3 separate regions of the Homo sapiens genome follow, and all the other regions are linked to region 3. The links are contacts of gene promoters, found by promoter capture Hi-C in human tissues and cell types (Jung and others, 2019). All regions are on one chromosome and are shown on one strand. Each heading gives the region's core, a stretch centred on a gene start or on the middle of the fragment in contact. The rest is flanking DNA. Distances are from core to core; before and after follow the strand shown. Region 1 overlaps F2R (coagulation factor II thrombin receptor). Region 2 overlaps UTP15 (UTP15 small subunit processome component). Region 3 holds the start of FAM169A (family with sequence similarity 169 member A).

Region 1 (2,700 bases), core at 150-2,649, 1.9 Mb before region 3:
TTGAGAGAGAGAGAGAGAGCTAATCACTCAATGTCTTTGGCAGAAATGGTGCTGTTTGTTTTATTTTTTCCTTGCATTTGTTCTTCCAGATCCCTTCTCCACGGCAAAGGAAGCTGATCTTTATGGACTACTTCACTCTGGGTATTGGGTTAAGATTAGGATCAAGGGGAGGCCTCCCAAGAGATCAGAGGGTGAGGGAGAGGCGTCAGTGTGTTCCCTCCTGTACCTGGGCCTTGGCAGTAATGGCTTCCCCTGATTGCTAGTCTCTGGGGGGTGCTTCACCAGTCCCCGTTGGTTCCCTTAACCCTGTCTACACCTTTGTAAATCACCTCTTCATTAAATGCTCTTCAGTTAAACCCTTAAAGTGTGCCAGGACCAGAAAGATATAATACTAATTTGTTCCAAAGAGATACCAAGCAAATGTTCACATTTATTAATACAGGTTATGTTTTTAAGAATGAACATAAAAACAGTGACATACTATTTTGTAAGTACATTAATGATATCATATTTTAATATATACAGACTAATAAACAATGACAGTAAATCTTCACTGATTTAGATAAAATGAATAGTCACTAAATTAATAAAACCAGTGCTAGCTTCTACTTACAATACAGTTATATTACTTTTATGTAAGTTATTCTATGGTATTTGGAAATAGTTTGCTCTTTTATTTTTTTATTTTTTATTTATTTTTATTTTTTGAGATGGAGTCTTGCTCTGTTGCCCAGGCTGGAGCACAGTGGCGCGATCTCGGCTCACTACAAGGTCCGCCTCCTGGGTTCACGCCAGTCTCCTGCCTCAGCCTCCCGAGTAGCTGGGACTACAGGTGCCTGCCACCACGCCCGGCTAATTTTTTTTGCATTTTTAGTAGAGACGGGTTTCACCGTGTTAGCCAGGATGGTCTCGATCTCCTGACCTCGTGATCCACCCGCCTCAGCCTCCCAAAGTGCTGGGATTACAGGCGTGAGCCACCGCGCCTGGCCTGCTCTTTTAAATAAACATTTGCCTTGCAACTTTCTATTTTGTTTAAAATGCTACCATTTTTTCGTAAGATAAGAGATATGTTTCAACCTAATTTCCAAATTACTTTGTGAATTCCATGAAGATTTTCTATACTTGATACTTAGGAGGTTAAAAAATGCTTTTAAAGTCTCATTAAGTCTTAAGTAAATGGAAATTATAGAATAATTTTCCTAGATTTCAATGTCAATTCTATTTTCTTCTGTTATTTCTAAGCAGACTGACATGATTGATTCTTAAAAGAAAACCTGATTTGAGCAATCTATTGAGCAAAACATTTGTAAATAAATAGTGCCCAATTAAATCAGACTTATTTTAAAAAATATATGTCCTGTACTGCATTGTTTTCATTAAGTTATAACCACAAGAAATAGTAACCCAAATGTTCAAACTTCTTTAGCTGACAGGCCTTGTTTGTGTGAAACATATTTATTACACATACATCACACTCTATGCATGATCTACTTTGCTCTTGAGGGCAGGTCTCTGTCTTATTCCACTCTGTACACTCAGCACCTATTGGAGTGGCCACAGCGCATAATGGGTGCTTCCATATCAGAACTGACATTTCAGAACAACTACTAGATGTGTTTACACCCAGTGGATGGGCATCCAGAAGTCCATGCCTTCTTTCGTTGTTTTTAAGATGGGTAGAGAAGTCTTTCATGGTCATTACCTCCTAGGATATCACATTCTGCTTTGCCAGTTTCTCATAAACATGATCAGTTCACAGCCAATCCCAGGAGGATGGAGCAAATGTAGTGGCCCCAGTCTCACTGCTGTGAGGCTCAGCAGGAAGGTTTCTGGCCAATCTGTGTCTGACATGGCCCTGGCATGTGTCTGCTGCCTGGAGTCCTCCATCGGGGGCGGACACATGCAGCTCTCAGGAATAGCCTACTCTGAAAGCCAGCCTACATTCACTAGAGGACTTATGCTCAGTTTTGGCTTATGTGTACAGTGTGTAAAATGTAAAAAATACTACCCATATCAAAACAGAGGCTTTTCATCTGTTTCCATAATTTTAGGAATTCAAACTTGGATATGTTTAAAATTGAAAACACTAGAACTTCTACGCACAGATAGTACTAAGTCTTACCTCTTAATAACTTAAACCTTGCCGTCAAACAATTTCAAAATACACTTATTTGCAAAAGTGGTACAAGCCCAAACTATGGAGTCTCTCACTGTTGATGAACACCATGAAATGTTCAGGGCTAAACTCTACCAACCTAGACTTTGCATATTAAATCAGGGAATCAGAGATTATTTTCATAATTGCTGGGGTGCGGGGAAAGAGTGTTTTAAAGTGCCTATTCTATACTGCACTGCAAATAATATATGTGTGTGCATACATCTACATATACACACATGTAAGTATGTATATGTCACCTAGCTATATCCAGAAGTGACATTCATTTATTACTGTAGCATTGGCAATATTCCCTTGGAATAACACCGTCATCTCGTCCTGTTATCTTTCTGGTAATTGACAAAAATACATGCTTGACAGCTCCCATAAAAAGCAGGTATGCAAGTCGTACATCTGTTGTTTTAGGAGGTGAATCAATAAAGTTTGGGTGGGGACTAATAGAATCCTCAGGTTATTCACTTTTATAAACTTTTCTTTTTAACCTCCCAGCAGTCCCTTTTCCTAAGTTAACAGCTTTTTGTATA
Region 2 (2,700 bases), core at 100-2,599, 1.3 Mb after region 3:
AAATGAGAAAAACATCTCAGTCCCAACTTGTTGAAAAATGTACCAAGGCCCCTTTTGAGGCCACATTATCTCCTTTCTCTAGTACTAGCAGCTATTTGCTGGGTAGTGGCATTTCAATCAAGAGAGTCACAGAAAAAGAGACAAGCCTACTAGATCTCAAATAACTGATTTTCAAAAGCTGCTGCAGATCTCTTAGGTAGGAGTAAAAGGAGTATGAGCTAAATTTCTGGGGTTAAATAAGATGGCACAGGGCTAAATACATAAGAGCTAAATTTCTGGGGTTAAATAAGATGGCACAGGGCTAAATTTCTGGGGTTAAATAAGATGGCACAGGGCTAAATAAATAAGATGGCACAGGGCTAAATACACAGAGCTCTCGAGTTCTGTGATTTCAGATCTGCCACTTACCACTTTGCCTTGAAAAATAAGTTAAAACTTTTATTTCATTGCTGTAAAGTAGGGAAAAAGCTAACTACCTTGTAGCATCATCTAGGGCATTAGAGTTCATATGTAACAGCACAGTGCCTGGCTCACATTAGGTACACAATAAATGATAACTGCTTGCCAGTCCTACCTATCAACTGTTTGAACAAAGACTTAGATATGCAATTCAAATGCACACTGATAAATTACAAAGAGCAACTGATTTTAAACAAACGTGATTCAAAACCAACAATATTGGTGAAAGCTATTTTTAAGAAGTACCTGCTGACACCAGAAGACCTCCAGAGGGGAAAAGTAGGACACTCTCCACTGGCTGCCCATGCTCAACGGAGAGAACACTCTCACTCGTTCGTGCATCAAACATCTTCACAGTATGATCATATGATCCTAAAATGTCAATTTTTGAATTTTTAGTTTGACTGTTTAAAACAACAAAAACTGTGTGTATCCAGATATAAATTTTAAAAGGAAAAAAAGCTTAGATGGAGTTTTAAAAAGACATATATGTATATTCATGAAGACACAGGACCTCCAAACCATCTACTACTGATCGTGTCTGAAGAAGCACTACATAATACTATACAGAATCTAACTTGCTCTGATCTTAAAATATTTCTTTCTTTGGACTACTGTCACTACTGAATCATCTGGAAATCTTTGTAAAGGCACCCACAAAGGCTAAACTGCACTCTTTGTTTCTTGGCTGCTTGAGGCAGGGTACTATACATTACAGTTCTGAGAGTCTATTATGTTTTCAAGACAGCCTGATTTTTCCAAACACATTTGGAAGACATGAACAATCAACAAAAGAAGAATAAGAAAATAAAAAACAATTGGAAGCCAGGCATGGTGGCTCACACTTGTAATCCCAGTCCTCCGGGAGGAAATTGAGGTAGGTGGATCACTTGAGCCCAGGAGTTCGAGACCAGCCTGGGCAACATGGCAAAACCGTCTCTACAAAAAAATACACAAAGTAGCTGGACGTGGTGGTGGGCACCTGTAGTCCCAGCTACTTGGGAGGCTTATGTGGGAGGATCACTTGAGCCCAGGAGGTAGCAGATGCAGTGAGCTATGGTCACATCACTGCACTCCAGCCTGGGCAACAGAGTGAGACCCTGTCTGAAAATAAATGCAAACATACATACATAAAAATTAATTTAAAAACTGAAGAATTAATCAGAAACATATTCCTTTATAAAAAAAATTTAAACCCCTCCATCCCAAAAGAGTCCCATAGCAACATTAAAGTACATCCCCGTGAGATTATTTGCTTCAGGAGGGAATAGAGTTCACCAACCTGTTATAAAGAGATCCGGATTAAGTTTGCTAGCACATCCACACCTCACATAATCAGAGTGTTCTTTAAATGTCAAAATTTCTTTGGAGTTTGGAATATCCCATAATTTAACTGTATAATCATCAGCCCCAGAGACCACGTGATATTTGTCAGCTGTAAAATCTACTGTATGAACTGCTCTGAAAGATTGAAGGTCAGTATATTAAAAAGCAAGAAAATTATTTTTCTGATACCTTCTAACATAAAATGCTCCTTTTTCTCAGATTAAAAAAAAAGCAGCTGAGTTTCAGGGAGTCTTCATAGGGGGAAATCATGAAAGAAAGAGAAAACTTACAAGTGTTTGCCCCCAAACCAATTAAGAAGTGTAAATACTCCTATATTGTAAAGTTAAAAAAAATTAAAGGATAGCCTTAAAATTATATTTTCTAGTATATAAACAATTCCACTTAGCTGCTGAATATGGAAGCAAAGGCACTTTAATTTTTAAAATTTCAAAAAGTTCTTTAAAAAACTCTAAAGAGATTTACCACTAAATAGAATCATGTTACATAAATTTCTGTTAAATTTTAACAAATTTCAGCACGGACATTGGCAATCCTGAAAACAAAGTTATAATATAAAATTGTGATGGCCACTTAATTTATTAAGGGGCAAAACACTATAAATTCAAGAAGAAAATCCACCTTCCTACTTGACTTCAACATAAGAGCCTCTAAGACAGTACAGGCCTATAGAGCTGTCATTACCAGCTGTAAGGTTGTCTTCAGGTCAGTAATTCATAATCTCAGCTGGGCCACAGACCCCACTAAAGTTAACCAAAAGCTACAGAGTAGCTCCCTAGATAAACGTGTATTTCCTAAAATATCACATACAATTCTAGGGAATTCATAAGCCCCATGAAACTGGACCACGGAACCCAAGTTAAGCACTCTTAGAACAATCAGGAAATATAGTACCTA
Region 3 (2,700 bases), core at 128-2,627:
TCCCCAAATGGCAATTGTTTGGGATTACCCTGGGGACTCCTACTTACACATAGCTCTAGAAATGTAAATACAAGTCATATAATTTCATTCATCACTGGCTATGGGTAGAACCCAACTACCCAAAATTCCTGCTCTATTAAATCTAATTCATTAAGTTTCATTAAAATGGTAAATGATGTGTAATAGTAAAGATTTTGGCTAATTAAATATTATACAAATGAAACAATAGATTCTTATATGGCAGAAAAGCTTTTTTTAAAAATCAGGGTCAAATATATCTATATCAACAAGCATTCTTTGAAGTATTTTTTGATCTTGCTAATTTTGCTAATCATTAGTAAATTCGTGAAAGTTGGTATTGTGATTGCTAAATATTTCCCAGGAATGAAAGAAGCAATTTTCAACTTTTCTGGATGAGCTGAACATAATACTACGGTTCTTGGATGATGAGTAAAAGAAAGTCTTGACATTAATACTTAGATACAATATTGTTTCTCAATACAGTTATTAAATATATTTAGACTACAATACGCATTACCTTAAAGACAATTTATCATGTTTTAAATGCTGGAGGGCTAATTTTCAGTAGGAGTGTGTAATTAGCAAAGGCGCCAGAGGCCATAAGACGGTAGAATAGAGCTGGGAGAGGCACGGGAGGAAAGCCGGATGGAACCCTGTTGTCTTTCTGGGTCAGGGTTATTCTGTACCGGTTAAACGGTGAAAGAGAAAAGGTCAGCGCAGGAATGTGGTATTTCCCTGACATCTCCAGATGAAAGTCCGGGCTCTAGGACTTCTGTAGACTGTGAAAGCAGCCCACGATTCTAACTTGCATGCACCTAAGTGGCAGTAGGTTTAGGATGAAAGTGGTGGGGCGGAGGCCGGCGGTCCTCGCCCGTGCCCTCTGCACCCCTGTCCCGAGGCCGGGATGGCCGCGCCCACTCTGGGTAAATTTCAGGAGGGCCTACGCGGGGCTGGAGAACTCCACCGGGCTATGCGAACAGAATCCTGCGAAGGTCGGCATTAAAGGAATACGCAAAATCAGCGTTGCAGCCCCCGCGGCTTAACCGCATCTATTTTTATATCTAAGCCAAGGTCACTCTTTAATACCAGGCCATTGCCCTGAGCTGGGCGTCGCGCTGCCGGGTGACGGCGGCCGGGGCGGAGAGAGGGGGCGCGGGTGGCGAGGCGGGGGCCGCGTGACGCCCCCGGGCTGGCCAAGCCCGCACCTGCCGGGCCGGCGCCTGAAAGCCGGGGCTGGAGGGAGGCAGGGCGGCGTCCCAGGCTCCGAGGAGGGGCCGCTCCGCGCTGGCGGGCGGGGGGATTCGCGGTGGGCGCGGGCGCGGAGCGGAAGCGAAGGCTGGAGGCGCTGCGGCGCTAGTGCGTCACGTCGTCGGAGGGCACGGTGGGCCGCGGCCGACCCGCGACGAGGAGCCGGGCGTCCGGGGCGAGCGGGAGGCAGCCGCACTCGCCCTGGCAGCCGCGAGCTGTGCGGCCTGGGACCGGCCGGAGGTCGCCAGCGAGCAGCCGCCGGCTCCATTCATTCGCGCGGCTCCGCCTCCTTTCCCGGGCTCTTCCAGCGGCTCCCGGGGCGCGTCTGAGGTGAGTGCGCTCCCTCTCCCCGGCGCGGACCGCTGGGTGAGGCCGAGACGGCCGCGCCGGGCCCCGCGCCCCCGCCAGCACCAGACCCGCGGACACCGAGCGGCGACGCGGGCCACCGGCTGTGGGCGGCCCCTGCGGGCTGGGCCTGGCGCAGACCAGTGCGGGCCGCCTGGACCCGGGGCTCGCGTCCAGCTGGCGGCGGTCTGCGGGGATCCCGTAGGGCGTGTGGCGCCCCCAGGTGCGCCGGCCTCCGCCTCGGCGCCACCATTTTGTGTGAGGGAATGCCCGTCTTCGCTCGCCTCCGCCGCGGGCCGGTTCGCAGCTGCGGCTTGCCGCCCCCTCCCCTCGCCCTCTCCCCACCTGGATGCTTGGCGTGCGAGCTGATTGCTTTGGCTTGGGGAGACGCGGACTCGGGGAGGTGTGGAACTTCAGCGTTTAGACTCGGTTCACCCGACCAGGTGGCCTCCAGAGATGCTCTGACCGCCTTCCTTTACCTGTAACTACTTTTGGAACAGATATTGTATGATTCTCCCTCCTCTGGAATGCTGGTCGTTGCAGTTTTGTCCTAATTGTGTTCTCAGCTCTCCATTATGCCATTTTTCAAGAGGCCTGTGCCTCAGGAGGTGAAGCCTTGAACCCTGGGTGGTTTATGGCTCGGGGGTCTGGATTACACTGACTCCCATGACTGTCCTTGGGGAGAAAGGATGAAGCATCTCACTGGCTTTTCAGCGTCTGGGAAGCGGCGTGGGTATCGTATCGGGTGGATTCGAAGATAACCACCTGATGCAGGTCACCTTCCCCCGCTGGGAGAGCCGTTCCTAACGTAAATTAAAACGTGTGTACGGGTTTTTGGGGGATTGGGACCGGAGGGACATATTTCTAAAAAATTTCCAGAAGGGAAAGTTTTCATTGTGATTCTCACAGAACTGTGACACAATTTGTCATTTTCAAGGTTCCTGAGAATTTGGGAATTCTTTTAATTCGTTGGCTTCTTGCGAATTACTACTTACGAACTGAGCAGATTATACCCAAGCCATTTATATTTTGTCATTGCATCACAGACAGGGATTACAATCGGGAGTGCTGGCTGTTGCATAATGC

What was found. The method cuts DNA at HindIII sites, captures the fragments that hold promoters and counts their contacts. A contact is called where the count stands out against the background at its distance.
Region 1: a fragment that was not itself captured here is called in contact with the fragment with the promoter of FAM169A in region 3 in 1 of the 25 tissues and cell types used here (hippocampus).
Region 2: a fragment that was not itself captured here is called in contact with the fragment with the promoter of FAM169A in region 3 in 1 of the 25 tissues and cell types used here (heart left ventricle).

What each region holds. Positions count from the first base shown.
Region 1 is chr5:76,733,481-76,736,180 of GRCh38, reverse strand. It overlaps F2R (coagulation factor II thrombin receptor), which reads right to left. Exons shown (of 2, transcript NM_001992.5): 2 at 411-2,700. The coding sequence ends at 2,678. Among named protein-coding and RNA genes, the nearest start is that of F2R, 19 kb to the right of the region's middle. The HindIII fragment of the contact is 3,178 bases long and covers 1-2,700 here.
Region 2 is chr5:73,568,717-73,571,416 of GRCh38, reverse strand. It overlaps UTP15 (UTP15 small subunit processome component), which reads right to left. Exons shown (of 13, transcript NM_032175.4): 5 at 1,742-1,920; 6 at 706-831. Among named protein-coding and RNA genes, the nearest start is that of UTP15, 4.3 kb to the right of the region's middle. The HindIII fragment of the contact is 7,294 bases long and covers 1-2,700 here.
Region 3 is chr5:74,865,064-74,867,763 of GRCh38, reverse strand. It overlaps FAM169A (family with sequence similarity 169 member A), which reads left to right and starts at 1,377. Exons shown (of 13, transcript NM_001376049.1): 1 at 1,377-1,599. FAM169A-AS1 (FAM169A antisense RNA 1) reads right to left here and starts at 1,871. Exons shown (of 1, transcript NR_134288.1): 1 at 489-1,871. RefSeq lists silencers at 1,441-1,690, 1,761-1,930. The HindIII fragment of the contact is 6,065 bases long and covers 1-2,700 here.